3 separate regions of the Homo sapiens genome follow, and all the other regions are linked to region 1. The links are contacts of gene promoters, found by promoter capture Hi-C in blood cells and fetal thymus (Javierre and others, 2016). All regions are on one chromosome and are shown on one strand. The core of a region is centred on a gene start or on the middle of the fragment in contact, and the rest is flanking DNA. Distances in the headings are between cores, read along the strand shown.

What was found. The method cuts DNA at HindIII sites, captures the fragments that hold promoters and counts their contacts. A CHiCAGO score of 5 or more calls a contact.
Region 2: a contact is called between a fragment that was not itself captured here and the fragment with the promoter of PEX1 in region 1, in 1 of 17 cell types (non-activated CD4 T cells). The highest score is 9.0, in non-activated CD4 T cells.
Region 3: a contact is called between a fragment that was not itself captured here and the fragment with the promoter of PEX1 in region 1, in 1 of 17 cell types (non-activated CD4 T cells). The highest score is 8.6, in non-activated CD4 T cells.

The regions. Positions count from the first base shown.
Region 1 is chr7:92,526,602-92,531,748 of GRCh38, forward strand. It overlaps PEX1 (peroxisomal biogenesis factor 1), which reads right to left and starts at 1,919. Exons shown (of 24, transcript NM_000466.3): 1 at 1,706-1,919. The coding sequence starts at 1,834. It overlaps RBM48 (RNA binding motif protein 48), which reads left to right and starts at 2,194. Exons shown (of 5, transcript NM_032120.4): 1 at 2,194-2,323; 2 at 2,875-3,065. The coding sequence starts at 2,213. RefSeq lists enhancers at 1,338-1,517, 2,118-2,497 and a silencer at 1,748-1,977. The HindIII fragment of the contact is 2,281 bases long and covers 1-2,005 here.
Region 2 is chr7:123,560,325-123,565,471 of GRCh38, forward strand. It overlaps a transcript of NDUFA5 not described here. Among named protein-coding and RNA genes, the nearest start is that of NDUFA5, 5.1 kb to the left of the region's middle. The HindIII fragment of the contact is 892 bases long and covers 2,032-2,923 here.
Region 3 is chr7:123,531,010-123,536,156 of GRCh38, forward strand. It overlaps IQUB (IQ motif and ubiquitin domain containing), which reads right to left and starts at 3,586. Exons shown (of 13, transcript NM_178827.5): 1 at 3,483-3,586. LOC124901740 (a long non-coding RNA gene) reads left to right here and starts at 3,522. Exons shown (of 2, transcript XR_007060507.1): 1 at 3,522-4,416; 2 at 4,596-5,147. RefSeq lists silencers at 3,653-3,882, 3,903-4,052, 4,133-4,262 and an enhancer at 4,333-4,472. The HindIII fragment of the contact is 1,073 bases long and covers 1,876-2,948 here.

The sequences.
Region 1 (5,147 bases), core at 669-3,168:
AATGCCTAAAAATTAAGTACAATCTAAATGGTCAATCATAGTAAACAATTAAATAAATTATGGCAAATTTGTGCTAGAATACTAATTAACAACTTAAAATGATGACCTTTTAACAAAATAAAACACTCATAATAACATTAAATAAAAACACCAGGACACAAAACTGTACGTGTGTATACAGGACCTCATTTATGTTAAAAATAAAGATTAGAAACAAAACTGGAAGATTTGATCCAAACTGTCAACATTAGTCACCTCTAAGTTCTGGGATTATGGGTAACTTATTTTCTTGTTAATAATTTTCCATGCTTTCCAAATTTTCTATAAAACATAAATTCTATAAATTTATATAATTCATCGAGGAATAAATGTATAGATTTATGGAATCTATAAAGTAATAAACTTATTACATTGATAATTAGAAAGTAAAGTTGACCTATTCTGCTAATATGGGCTGAACAGAAACAGCAATTTGTTCCAGGGCTAAAGACATTTACATTTCAAAAAGATATGCATGAATTAATTCTTATAAGTACTTCCCGAAGGCTCAAAATTTAAAACAAAGATCAAGACCACTAAATTCTTAAACAGTGATGAATGTAAGGTAACAACTACATCTTAGGATCAAATTAGAGTTACTGTAAGAAAGCATTCCTACTATTAAGTGCAGATTTGAAAACATGTTGAAAAATCCCATCGAAGCTGACAGAGCACTGAACCAACTTCTACCTGGAACTTGGTGACAGTGACTGATTTGTCTCTAGCCATAAAGCCCATCAAAAACCAAAAGATTGTCTACTTAGTGGTAAAAAATAATAACGACGATGATAGGAGGATTCTGCTGAACTCATGTTTTCAGTGGACCAAAAATATCTTCCCCTAGGTATGGGGAAGTAACTCAAGTGGAAAGAAGGGATGCTTGAAATTATTGCAAACTCTATTCATTGCATAGATTAGCCACTGGTGGGTACCATGCATCCAGGATTTATGAGGATTTCAAATACGCCGTCCTTTTGCCCCCATAAGTACACTCAAACTCGTGAGACCATGTGCCTCTATTTTTAATTATGAAAATATGGACGCTGTATCTCCACCAGTGGTTAGAACTGTGAAACATCCTAACCACAACGTCCAGAAGGGCGACTGATCGCAGAGCTTCAAGTGATCTTAACTACGTTATGTGTTCCTAACACACTACAGCTGTGTTCCGCGTCAGCGACGCAGGGCAGAACCATCATTGTATTAACCTTTCCCGCTCATGGGACGCGGTGCTTAGTCCCCGGGAACCGACAGGGGCTCCGCCAACAACTCTGCGTCCCGCTCTCGCGGCCCGGACGGCAGCAGCGCAGGTTAACTGGAAATGGCTGGCAAGGAAAACACCTTTTAAAATAATAAAAACAAACCACTTCTCAGGAGCTTTTCCAGCCTGGAATAAGGAATATTTATAAAAACAGTGGTAGAATATTAGGACGTTTCTAGGTTCAGTTTCACCAAGTGAAAAGACCTGGGATAAGACGAGCCCAGGGCTGCACTGGACTTGTGGGATCCAGAGACTACCCAGAAGGGCCCTGCCGTCGAGGGACCCTGATCTCTGCGCGCTTCGGCGGCGCCCGGGTGGCAGCCGGTGTCCCGCCGCGTCCCTGAGAGGCTTCGGCCTCGTCCGACCCCAGGCTGAAGATCAGGTGGCTCGGGGCCGGCAGGTTACCTGCAGCAGATGCAGCTGGGCCACGAGACGCCGCGGCAGGTGGAGGAAGCAGTCGCGAGCGTTGGTGAAGGCCACAGTCACTGCCGCCCCGCCTCCCCCAGCACCCGCCAGGCGATCGCTGCCCCACATCGTCCCGGAGCGTCGCTCTGGGTTCGCCCACCCTAGCGCCGCAAAGGACCCGGGACCCGGCAGGCCGAGGACGTCGGAGCCGGAGGAGATCGATCGGCCCCGCCCCCTGCGGCCCCGCCCCCTCTCCCCGCTGCGCATCCTGCCGTAAGCCTGTAGTGGGTGGGACAAGAAAGCTTCTGTCACCCACCGCGCCTCTCCGCCGAGCCGCTCGGGGGCGGCACCTCGTTCATCAAATCTTCGCACGCAGGAAACGATGGCCGACGCTGTCGATTCTCCAGCCAATCCTGGCACTCCTTAACTCATCCCGCTCTCTTATTGGATAAAAGGGAGCTCAGTAGGGCGGATGTTGTCCTCCCTGCGAGGATCAAAGTAGGCAAGATGGCGTCGAGCGGCGGGGAGCTAGGGAGTTTATTTGATCACCACGTCCAGAGGGCGGTATGCGACACACGGGCCAAATATCGAGAGGGACGACGGCCTCGTGCTGTGAAGGTAAAGTGATTTTGGTTTCATTCGCTCTCCTCGGTAGCTTTATGTGAGTGCTAGCGCCATATGACCAGCCTACGGAAATAAAGGCACGACAAGGCTTCCGTCAGATCTGTCTCTCGTTAGAGCTGGCGTGAAGAACCCTCGGTCAGTTACCAAAGATTCTCACGACGCCTTTGGTCAAGTATTAGAACATCAACTCCACGAGAATAGGCCTTGGTTTTAGTCATTGGATCTTCTGTGTTTACAGTACTACTTGGCACAGGTAAGCACTCAGTGAATATTCGTTGAGTGATTGTTCCCAGTGACTTCTACCGACTCAATTTCTGGAAAAAAATGTCGACTGAAGGTAGTCTGTTATATGCCTTAGGTAGCCTCTCACATGGACTGTTATTCTTTATGCAGAAGGAATGGCAGAAATTTCATTTTGTGTTCTTTTGCTGACTGGGTTGAACAGATTATTTCTTGTTTTCAAAGTTCTCTTTAAAAAAAAATAGAGGCAGATTCGTCCTAGGCTTATTTGCGAAATACGTTTAATAACTCTGCATTTCTTTCAGGTATATACAATCAATTTGGAATCTCAGTACTTATTAATACAAGGAGTTCCTGCTGTGGGAGTCATGAAGGAATTAGTTGAGCGATTCGCTTTATATGGTGCAATTGAACAGTACAATGCTCTAGATGAATACCCAGCAGAAGACTTTACTGAAGTTTATCTTATTAAATTTATGAACTTACAAAGTGCAAGGTAATGTGCAAGTTAAGAAATGACTCATTTCCTCATTTCTTCCATTCATATTTCTGTCATTTTGGCCCCAAGTTTCCCTCATTCATAACTGAATTACCCCAAAACGTAATCTAGCATATCTTCCTCCAGCCTTTTTAAAAGTTAACTTTACTGAAACACTGTATCCATCACATCATTCCCATGCTTAACAATTTAATGTCCTGTAGCTTGGTAGAGTAGAAGTTGGGTTTGGCCAGGCACGGTGGCTCACGCCTGCAATCCCAGCACTCTGGGAGACCGAGGTGGGCGGATCACGAGGTCAGGAGTTTGAGACCAGCCTGGCCAACATGGTGAAACCCCCCTCTCTACTAAAAATACAAAATTAGCTGGGTCTAGTGGCGCAGGCCTGTAATCCCAGCTACTCGGGAGGCTGAGGCAGGAGAATCGCTTGAAACCGGGAGGCAGAGGTTGCAGTGAGCCGAGATTGCGCCATTGCACTCCAGACAGGGCAACAAGAGGGAAGCTCTGCCTCAAAAAAAAAAAAAAAAAAAAAATTTGGGTTTGAAGCCTGGGCGTGGTGACTCACGCCTGTAATCCCAGCACTTTGGGAGACCGAGGCAGGCAGATCACTTGAGGTCAGGGGTTCAAGACAAGCCTGGCCAACATGATGGAAACCCCTCCTCTACTAAAAATACAAAAATTAGCCGGGTGTGGTGGTGCGGACCTGTAGTCCCAGCTACTCAGGTGGCTGAGGCATGGGAATTGCTTGAACCTGGGAGGTGGAGATTGCAGTGAGCAGAGATCATGCCACTGCCCTCCAGCCTAGATGACAGAGCAAGGCTCTGTCTCAAAAAAAAAAAAAAATTCTGGTTTGACGCCAGGCACGTGGCTCACACCTGTAATCCCAGCACTTTGGGAGGTCGAGGTAGGTGGATCACCTGAGGTCAGGAGTTCAAGACCAGTCTGGCCAACATGGTGAAACCCTCACTCTACTAAATACAAAAATTAGCCGGCTGTGTTGGTGCAAACCTTTAATCCCAGCTCCTGGGGAGGCTGAGGCACAAGTATCACTTGAACCCAGAAAGTGGAGGTTGCAGTGAGCCAAGATCATGCCATTGCACTCCAGCCTGGGCAAGAGTGAGACTGTCTCAAAAAAAAAAAAAGAAAAAGTTGGATTTGATCCCAGCACTTTGGAAGGCCAAGGTAGGCAGATTGCTTGAGCCCAGGAGTTCGAGACCAGACTGGCCAACATGGCCAGTATTTTGTATTTTGTAAAAATACAAAAATCAAGCTGGGTGTGTTGGTGCATTCCTGTAGTTCCAGCTACTTGGGAGGCCGAGGTAGGAGAATCAGTTGAGCCCAGGAGGTGGAGGTTGCAGTGAGTCTTATGGGCCACTACACTCCATCCTGGGTGATGGAGTGAGACTCTGTCTCAAAAGAAAAAAAAAGTTGGGTTTGGAGTAAGTTTTCCATTTCCACTGCTTACTAGCTTCATGATCTTGGGCAAGTTATTTAACCTGTTTAAGTTTTTCCTCTTCCATAAAATCTGTATGGTAAAGGGACCTATCTACTTCTTGGGGTTGTATGAGGATGAAATGAGATAATCCATATAAAGGTGTATCCTGGTCAGAATACAGTAAACATTAGCTATTGTGGTTTCTACTGTTACTCCTTTCTGCAAACTGACTCAGTTTTTTCCAGCCTTCTATGTGACATAATCCTCTGCTCCAAAAAGGCTGAAGTATGCAGTGCCTTATCTATTTTTATATTGATCTCTGTTCTCCTCACTAATCTGCTCTGAGACCCATCCTTCTCTGGCTATTACAATTCATATTTTCTTTCTTGTGCTATCAGTAGAACTCATAGTCTACCACAAAAGCACTTGATTTTACTGGGTCTTGTGTGGTTTTCTCAGGCTGCTGTTATATGTAATTTCACTTTCTTAACCAACCTGCCAGCTCCCATGGTTAGGGAAACATTTTCTAGAGCTTTTCTGTTTTCTATAGTACGTAGTCTGGTAGGCTCTGAAGTAAGACATCTGGATTTGAATCCTTGCTCCTCAAACCAGACTATGAGCATGGCTAAGTTACATAATGTCCCAGT
Region 2 (5,147 bases), core at 1,228-3,727, about 31 Mb after region 1:
GCTAAGGGAATTAGGCAAGAAAATAAAATGAATAAAAGTCATCCAGAAGAGACAGGAAAAAGTAAAACTATCTCTATTCACAGTTGCATAATCTTTTATATAGGATTATTAAGGAATACACACATACATACAATTAAAACAAATAACTTCAGCAAAGTTACATTATACGTGATCTATCAGGGTCAGCTCAGGCTGCCATAACAAAATACTATGGATGAGGTGGCTTAAACAACAGAAATGTATTTCTCACAGTTCTGAAGGCTGATAAGTTTAAGACCAAAGCCAGCAAGACAGATTTCATTCTGAGGCTTTTTCTTTTGGCTTATACTGGTTACCCTCTCATGGTATGCTCATATTTACCTCTTTTCGTGTGTGCTTGGGGTTGGGTCAGGGTGGAGAGCAAGATCTCTGGTGTCCCTTTTTATAAGGCCACTGTTACCATCATGACCTCATCTAAACCTAATTATCTCCCAAAGATTCCATCTCCAAATACCATTTTATTGAGGTTTAGAGCTGTAATATATGAAATCTGGGGGACATAGTCCATAGCAATCAATATACAAAAATATGCTCTAGTCTATTATAGCAATGAATAATCTGAAAATAAATTAAGAAAACAATTCTATTTACCATAGCATCAAAAAGAAATAAATCTAACAAAATAAGTGTAACACTTGTACACTGAAAAGTATTAAATATTGTTGGAAATACTAAAGATCTAAATAAATAGACATTTCTTATTTAATGATTTGAAGTCAATATTGGTCAGATGGCAATACTCAAGTTGATGTAGCGTTTCATCACAATTCCTATCAAAATCCCAGCTTCCTTTTTGCAGAAATTTTTCACAAAAGATTTGTCAGTAGCAGAAGGCACTGTTTGATAACACTTGTCTCACAGAAGAACTCTCAAAATTGGAATCAGTCCTCTCAATTCTGCTGCTGCTTTATCAACCAAATTTATAAAATATTATAAAGACTTTGTTGTCATTTAAACAATATTCACAGTATCTTCACCAGGAGTAGATTCCATCTCAAGAAACCACTTTCTTTGTTCATTCAAGAAGCAACTCATCATCTGATCAAGTTTTATCATGAGATTGCAGCAGTTCAGTCACATCTTCAAGCTCTACTTCTAATTCTGGTTCTCTTGCTGTTTTCCTCACATTTGCAATGGCTTTTTCCACTGATCTTCAACCCCTCAAAGTCATCCATGTGAGTTGGAATCAACTTTTGCTAAACTCCTGTTAATATTGATATTTTGACCTCCTTGCATGAATCACCAATTTTTTTTTTGAGACAGAGTCTCTATTGCCCAGGCTGGAGTGCAGTGGCATGATCTTGGCTCACTGCAACCTCTGCTGCCCCAGTTCAAGCAATTCTCCTGCCTCAGCCTCCCGAGTAGCTGGAATTACAGGCATCTGCCACCGCACCCGGCTAATTTTTGTATTCTTAGTAGAGACGGGGTTTCACCGTCTTGGCCGGGCTGGTCTTGAACTCCTGACCTCATGATCCACCCACCTCAGCCTTCCAAAGTGCTAGGATTACAAGCGTGGCCACCGCACCTGGCCCATGAATCACCAAATCTTTTTAATAGCATCTAGTGTGGTCAGTTCTTTCAAGAAGGTTTTCAATTTATGTTACCCAGATCTGTCAGAGGAATCGGTATTTATGGTAACTATAGCCTTATAAAATGTATTTTTTTAAATAAGACTTGAAAGTGGACATTACTCCTTGACTCGTGGACTGCAGAATGATGACTGCAGCATGTTGTGCGTGAAAACAATGTTAATCTCTTTGTACATCTTCATCCTCAGGGCTCTTGAGTGACCAGGTACATTTTCAATGAGCAGTAATATTTTGAAAGAAATCTTCTTTTTTCTTAGCCCAGACTTTGTTGTTCCATTTATAGAACACAGGCAGACTAGATTTAGCATCATTCTTCAGGGTCCTAGGATTTTCAGGATGGTAAGTGAGCATGGGCTTCAACAGCTGCATAAGCCTGTAACAAGAGAGTTAGCCTGTCTTTTGAAGCTTTGAAGCCAGGTGTTGACTTGTCCTCTCTAGCTTTGAAAGTCTTAGATAGCATCTTTTTCCCATAGAAGGCTGTTTCATCTACATTTTTAAAAATCTATTGTTTCCTGTGGTTATCTCCATCAGTGATCTTAGCTAGATCTTCTGGATCTTGCTGCAGCTTCTACATCAGCACTTGCTGCTTCACCTTGCACTTTTATGTTACGAAAATGGCTTCTTTCCTTAAACCTCATGAACCAATTTCTAACAGCTTCAGAGTTTTCTTCTGCAGCTTTTTTTACCTCTCTTAGGCTTCATAGTGCTGAAGAGAGTCAGGGCCTTGCTCTGGATTAGGTTTTGGCTTAAGGGAATGTTGTGGATGGCCTGGTCTATCCAGGTCACTAAAACTTTCTCCATATCAGCAATAAGGCTGTTTTTCTTTTTCTTTTCTTTCTTTCTTTCTTTTTTTTTTTTTTTTGAGTCAGAGTTTTCTCTCTGTTGCCCAGGCTGGAGTGCAGCAGCACGATCTCGCCTCACTGCAACCTTTGCCTCCCTGGTTCAAGCATTTCTCCTGCCTCAGCCTCCTGAGTAACTAGGATTACAGGCAGGCACACCACTCCCAGCTAATTTTTTTTTGTATTTTTAGTAGAGACAGGGTTTCACCATGTTGGTCAGGCTGGCCTAGAACTCCTGACCTCAGGTGATCCGCCCACCTCGGTCTCTGAATGTGCTGGGGTTACAGGTGTGAGCCACCGCGCCTGGCCTGTTTTGCCTTTTTATCATTCGTGTGTTAACAGAGTAGCACTTTTAATTTTCTTCAAGAACTTTTTCTTTGTATTCACAGCTTGGCTAACTGGTGCAAGAGGCCTACTTTTTGGCCCATCTTAGCTTTCAACATGCCTCCCTCACTAAGCTTAATCGTTTCTAACTTTTGTTTTAAAGTGAGAGATTTGTGACTCTTCCTTTCACATGAACACTTAAAGGCCATTGCAGCATTATTAACTGGCCTAATTTCAACATTGTTGTATCTCAGGGAATAGGAAGGCTAGAGCAGAAGGAGAGAGATGGGGAACAGCCAGTCGGTGGAGCAACCAGAACACAAATAACATTTAAGTTTGTTGTCTTATATGGGTGTGGTTTGTTGAACTCTAAGACACTTAATAACACTAACATCAAAGATCAGTAATTACAGATCACCATAATAGATAAGGAAGAAGTTTGAAATATTTCAAGAGTTACCAAAACGTGACACAGAAGCATGAAGTGAGTACATGCTGTTGGAAAAAATGGTGCTAATAGACTTGCTTGATACATAGTTGCCACAAACTTTAAATTTGCAAAATATCTGCGAAGTAAAACAATATAGCAAAGCACAATAACATAAAGTGTGCCTTTTATACATATACGTGGCTGTTATCACAGTATCCTAGAGCCAGTAGACCTACAGGAGGCTAAATGATGAGGGTCACAGAGCCACAGGCAGTTCTCTAAGGGTTCTAAACAGGAAGCACCAGGATTGAGATTTATGTTTAGATGCCACATCATGGGCAGTGTGAAGAAGGAGTCTGCATGTGGCAGGACTGTGAGCAGTATGACCCAATACAAACATCTATGAAAAAATGAAATAAAATCTATCAAAAAAAAGGTTGGTGAATTTGACTACATTAATATTCTATACTTCTGAATAACAAGAGACACAACTTAAATTGTAAAACAACACAGACGGGAAGAAGATATCTGCAACCCATATAGCCACCAAAAAATAGGCGATGCCTAGAATATGTAAGGAACTTTTGTAAATCAATAAAACAACAACAAGAAAAGAACACCCAAAACAGGTCTCCCTACTTTGACTTTTGCCTCCCTCTCTGGAGTACATTAAATGAGTTATTATATGTATATGCCTCACCCAGTATGTGTAATATGGCACCACCTACTTGACTTCTATTAATTTATTAGTTTACTTTTTTTATTCTCAACCCAGTAGCTAGAATAATTCTTTTAAAAAGTACTTTGCTCAAAATTCTCCCATGATTTTTTTCACTCAAGCTGTAAAAGTCAAAGTTCTTACACCTTGCAATCCACAAGGCCCTGCCCCACTTCTCAGACCTAACCTCCTGTATTAGTCAGGGTTCCCCAGAGAAAGAGAACCAGTGGGATATTTAATATTTCATTTTAATTTCATGCACACACACATATACACATATGAAATAGCCATATATATAGGAGATATATATAAAATACCCCTATATATAGGATATTTTTATATATCCTATTGTGTGTGTGTGTATATACACATACACACATACACACACATATACAGATGATCTCCAAGTTACAATGTTTTGACTTACGATTTTTTGATGTTAAGATAGGTTTATTGGGACGTAACACCATAAGTCAAGAAACATCTGGACTTAACGATTGTTTGCCTTATGATTTCTTAACTTTATGATAGTTCATTGGAGTATTAAATGGATTTTTGACTTATGATATTTTCAATTTTATGATGGGTTTATTGGTATATAGCCCCTTTGTAAGTTGAGAAGCATCTGGACACACACACACACACACACACACACACATATATATACACATACACACACAAGTACATATAAACATACACACACACATACATGTAGAGAGATTTATTATAGAAATTGGCTTATGCAATTACGGAAGTTGAAAAGTCCCACAATCTGCTGTCTGCAAGCTGATGAACTAGGAAAGCTGGTGTTGTGATTCAGTCCAAGCCCAAAAGCCTGAAAACCCACAGAGCCAATGGTATCAATCCTGGTCCCAGTCCAAGAGTAAGAGCACTGATAATCAAAGGCAGAAGAATATAGATGTCTCAGCTCAAACAGGGAGAGTGAATTCACCTTTCTTCTGTCTCTTTGTTCAAGCCTTCAAGGGATTGGATGATGGCCACCTTATTGGTGAGGGTAATCTTCTTTGCCTTATTCTATAAATTCAAATGCTAATCTTTTCTCTAAGCATCCTCAGACGTAACAGACGCACCCAGAAATGTTTTACCAGCTATCTGGCTATTTAGCTTATAATACACACACACACACACACACACACACACACACATCCACACACGAATTTAGGGAGAAACAATTTGCTTTAGGGTTC
Region 3 (5,147 bases), core at 1,162-3,661, about 31 Mb after region 1:
TCTTCTTGTCTCTGTAGATAGGAAAACTGGAACTGTCAAGAAACTTGCTTAAGATCACAGAGTGCATTAGGTTCGGATCCATAATCAAATTGGAAAAAAAGAAAAACACAAAGAACAATTAAGACTCCAAAGCCCTAATGCATAGTCTTTGTATCCTATCACACTGTGGCATTATATATATAAAACAAAAAACTTTATAATAAAGAGAAATGTATTTTCCAAACTGTGGTTCTCCAGATAACAATGTGTCTCCGTGAGGACCATATAGTAAATACATCCCATAAAAAATGATTACCAACCAAAAGCTTGCAATTAATGTTCCAACTAAAGAAAAAGACTCAAAGTAAAAGCATCAGCTATCCTAGGTACTGCTTGGAGGCAACACCAAACACGACACATAAATCATTGTTGAAAAAAACCGTAAAACATAATGCTGGGTATTTAGTTATGTTGAATGCTAAAACTAATCTTTCCTTAACTAAAGGTCTCCGTCAAATGAAAAGTGTATTTTAGTCAAGTCAGGATTTCTGTTTTGCAAACTCAAAGTCTTATATTATTAAGCATATATTCAGGTTATTTATTTTCCTGATCATAATTTTCAAATCAAATTAAGATCAAACTCCACTGACCGTCAGGTACTGTATATTCTCATTTTGATAAATTTCAAATTAATGATAAAAATGTATTAACCTGCTGGTCAATTATACATTTTATAAATATATTTTAACCAATGACATATTATCAGTAAGTACAGATTCAACGGCAAGATTTCATTAAGAAAGTGTTTCAAGCTTCAGATGCCCAAGACTTATTTAATGTGTAAATCTTCACCACTACAATAACCACATGGTTAAACGATCACCACTTCCATTAGCAAGCTCAAGCCTAATAAGTGATCTCCTGGGACTTCAGCACAGAGGTTTTCTAATTTTATTCCTCCACTCAATGTGGCTATTCTCCCTTATCTATTCACGCTGGCAAAGCTTCTAGTTAAACTGGAATTAGTAACTATTTGATGATAATAATTAACATATACTGAGTGCTTCCGATGGCGCAGTTAATTCTTACAGTTGATAAAAGTGTGGCACAAAAAGGTTAATCAAGTAGCAGAGGCAGGATTTGAACCCAGGAATTCTGGTTCCAGGGCCCGGATTCGGAGTTACAAAGGTGAGTAAACTGAAAAGAGTCCTACTTTTATTGTCATTGCTTTCTAATAAAAATTATTTTTTTCTTCCAATTGTTTAAATCTCTTCTCATTCTCTATTTAAATATTAGGCGTTCATTTAAATATTAGGCGTCTACCTTACAGTAGGACATCTTTAAACAACGTAAAAAAGGAAAGCTTTGTCTTCACCTTCACACATACCGGTCTGCCCATAAATTTTGCAATCCAGTTCTGCCTGATTCTAAACTGCTTGTCTCTTGAAGCGAATGCCTTAAAAAGTGACACTGGGATCAGGATAGTTATCTCCATCCATCCTCCCTCAGAAAAACAACTATATTCGAGTAATTCTTGGGACCACTGAGAACAATACACAGACCTTTGGGTAACTTCAAGACAAAAAAGGCAAAAAGTCGGGGAGAAGGTGTGGGAGGATGATTTTCCCCTTCTAAACGTAAGGTATAAAAGGGCTCAGAAAGCGGAAAAAGAACCCTAAAAAGCAAGGTGCGGGACGGCGTGAGGGACCACACATTGGGCGCTCCGCCCAAGGGGTCCGGCTCCTTCTCCGCGGCGATGGCGCGTCCTTGGGCTCAGCAACCCTCCTGAAGACACCTAACCTCCTCCTTCTCCAGCCTGCCCCTCTGGGGCCTGCGAGCCCCGTCCCGGGCCGGGGGTCGGAAGCCGTGCCATGTAGGACCCCGAAAAGGCCCCCAAGCTTGGCGCGGAAGGCGCCGCCAGTGACCGGCTGCGGCTGGGGGCGGAGGCCGGCAGTTGCTCGGAGCTCCGGCGGGTCAGGAGGTGACGGGAGGAGGAGGAGGCAGGAGGAAGAAAGGGGGGTTGGGAGGTAGCGTCCGGTAGGTCTGCGCAGACAGCGCTGCCAGACCTCTGACTCCCCCAGTCCTGCCGCCGCCGATAGCCCCACAAGGCGACATGGGAAGTCCGCCGGAGCAGAGGGGAGAAAATTCAAAACGAGTCTACTCAACCTCGTCTTGGCTCCGAGGCCCCGCCATGCAGACCCCTCTAGTTTTTTACTATTAAAAATAGTGCTGCAACAAACATTTTATACATCTATCTCTGTATATATGTGTAAGTATACTGAAAATGAGTTCCCAGAATTAGAATGGACAAGTCAAAGGGCATACAGATCTTAATTTTGTTAAATTCCATCAAACTGTTTTCTATTATAGCCCCAAGAAGTTCCCCTTGACTGTTTCCTTACATCCTCATATTGTTTTATGAGTCCTAATAATTAAATATCCCTTTGTTGTGTGTTGCCCTTATATTTCCCATTGTATGTTTGATGTTGTTTTTCTCTTACTATATAAAAGTTTTAGATTGTTAGGTAGTGACATTTATCAATCTTTTTGCTTATGAGAGTTTCCAAATTTCCTGACATGCTTCGAAACACCTTCTCACAATGAAACATAAATACATAAATTCATCCATAAATGCATAAATGAGACAGATCTGTAAATATTGATAGAAAACAACTGGACACACAGTCTTAAGTGTAAAAGCCAATCACAGAAGAGTATGCACAATGTTACAGGTGTAACTACATATTTGCGTATGTCTAAAACACCTGTGGAAGGTGGCCTGGAGATGGGGAGAAATGGGTAGATGGAGGATTTTCACTCTTCATTCTTTTTACTATTCGAACTATTTTTTTATGTATTATCTATTCAAATGAAAATGTTTAAATCTTATTGTTTAAAAAGCAACCTCTATCATGTTTGCATACAAAAAAGTCTCCCTTTTCACCTACATTTCATTCCCTACCATTTAAAGCTTAACACATTTAGAATGTAGTATAATTAGTGAGGCAGGGATCCAGTATTGCCTTCTACCAAATAGATCTGTTGAATTTTTAGGTTTGTTAAGAGGCAAAGACCAAGGGTGGAGAGGAAGGAGTGAGAGTGCCAGGTGAGGAAAGTCTAAAATCTCTCGACTTAATATGAGAATGGTGGCCACGGAAGGCTAAGAGTCTCTAGTGCCAGGTGTGGGTTATACACACATCTTCTATGCAATTACCGTGACAAGCACCCAGGGTGTGAGGTGAGGTGTACCTCCTAGCTTGATGCTGCTGGTTCAAGTCCCAAATCAGAGAGGGGAAGCCAAAAAAGGAGCCGAGAAAGATGAGATGCTTCGCACGGTTTTTAAAGTAAAGTCGGAACATTCCTGACCGACTAGGCAGCCCCAGGCGCTCAGGTGGGAATCACTGCCCAGCACACAGAACCCAGAGTCCAGCGCGGCTGTCACCGGCTCTAGGCTGGATCTAAGCGTCGGACCAGGAGGCCGCAGTCAAAATCTGTTCTCCTACCTGTGTACGAAACCAAACTATTCTCGTCGAAGTGCTTTCCCAGGCTCCTAAGACGCAGCTTCCATACTCGCCGCGTTCTCAGCTGTTGGTCGTATCCTAGCAACGGCCCTGGCACCACCTCTTCCTGCCGGAGCACGGCAGGGGTGGGAAGGAGAGGAGCCAGAGGCGGGTGGGGGGGAGGAGCCAGAAGAGGGCAGCGGGGAGGGGCCGGGAAGGAGGAGCGCGGCAGGGTAGGGGGAGGAGCCAAAGACTGGGGGCGGGGCCGGGAAGGAGGAGGGCGGCAGAAGAGAAGGGGATGAGCCAGAGGCGGGGAGGTGGGGCCGGGAAGGAGGAGTGCGGCAGGAGAGAAGAGGAGTAGCCAGAGGCGGAGGGGCGGTGTCGGGAAGGAGGAGCGCGGCAGGAAATAAGGGAAGGAGCTAGAGGCGGGCTGGGGGCCGGGGTCTGGAAGGAGGATCGCGGTAGGGAAGAAGAGGAGCCAGAGGAGGGGGATGGGGGCTGCAAAGGAGGAACGCGATAGGGAAAAGGGGGAGGAGCCAGAGGCGAGGGGGCGGGGAGAAGAAACATGGCAGGAGAAAGGGGAGGAGCCAGAGGCGAAGAGACAGGAAGAGGGACGCGTCAGGGAGAAGGGGAGGAGTCAGAGGCGAGCGGGCGTGGAGGAGGGAAGCGGCAGGGAGAAGGGGCGGGGCCAGAGGCGAAGGGGCGGGGAGGAGGGACGCGGCAGGGAGAAGGGGAGGAGCCAGAGGCGGAGGCTGTTACCAACTGGCTACCTAGATCCAAGTGAATCAGGACACTAACTTCTCTCCAAGATCTTTTACACTTGTGAAACGGCACAGCTCTCTAAACCAAACACTGACAGCAGTTTAATTTTACAGATATAAAAAAAATCCGAGTCAGAGAAATCATCACGATGAAGTCAGAGGCGAGAAACTGTCAGGTGCCTACTTGCTTTTGTTAAACTAACAACTTGGCTCTCAGCTTCCTGGCAGCCAAAGAGAAAAGGGAGATAGTAGCTATCAAATAATTCTGCTTAGAAGAACTTTTGTTAATCACTAAATTAGTTAATAAACTAAATTTTGTCTAACAACAAATTCTTTTTTTTTTTTTTTTTTCTAGTGTATACAGAGTCTTGCTCTGTCGCCCAGGTTGAAGTGCAGTGGTTCGATCTCGGCTCAATGCAACCTCTACCTCCCTGGCTCCCGCGATTCTCCTGCCTCAGCCTCCTGAGTAGCTGAGATTACAGGCGCCCGCCACCACCCCCGGCTAATTTTGGTATTTTTAGTAGAGATGGGGTTTCACCATGTTGGCCAGGCTGATCTGGAACTCCTAGCCTCAAGCAATCCGCCTTCAAAAGTGTTGGGGATTACAGGAGTGAGCCACCGCGCCCGGCCTATCAATGAATAAGAAAACTTTTAAAGAACCACAGGATAGTATTGGAGGTCAAGTCAAGTATGTTCCTCTTGGAAATTTAGTAACAAACTACATGTTGCTATCTCATAATAGCAGCTAACATTTATGAAGTATTCATTGTCATGAGGCACCGTACATAGATTTCTAATTTAATCCTTACAACGATTTTATTAGGGAGAAACTGCTATTAGACCCATTTTGTAAATGAGAAAACTAAGGCACACAAAGTTTAATGAGGGAACCAGGATTAAACCTAAG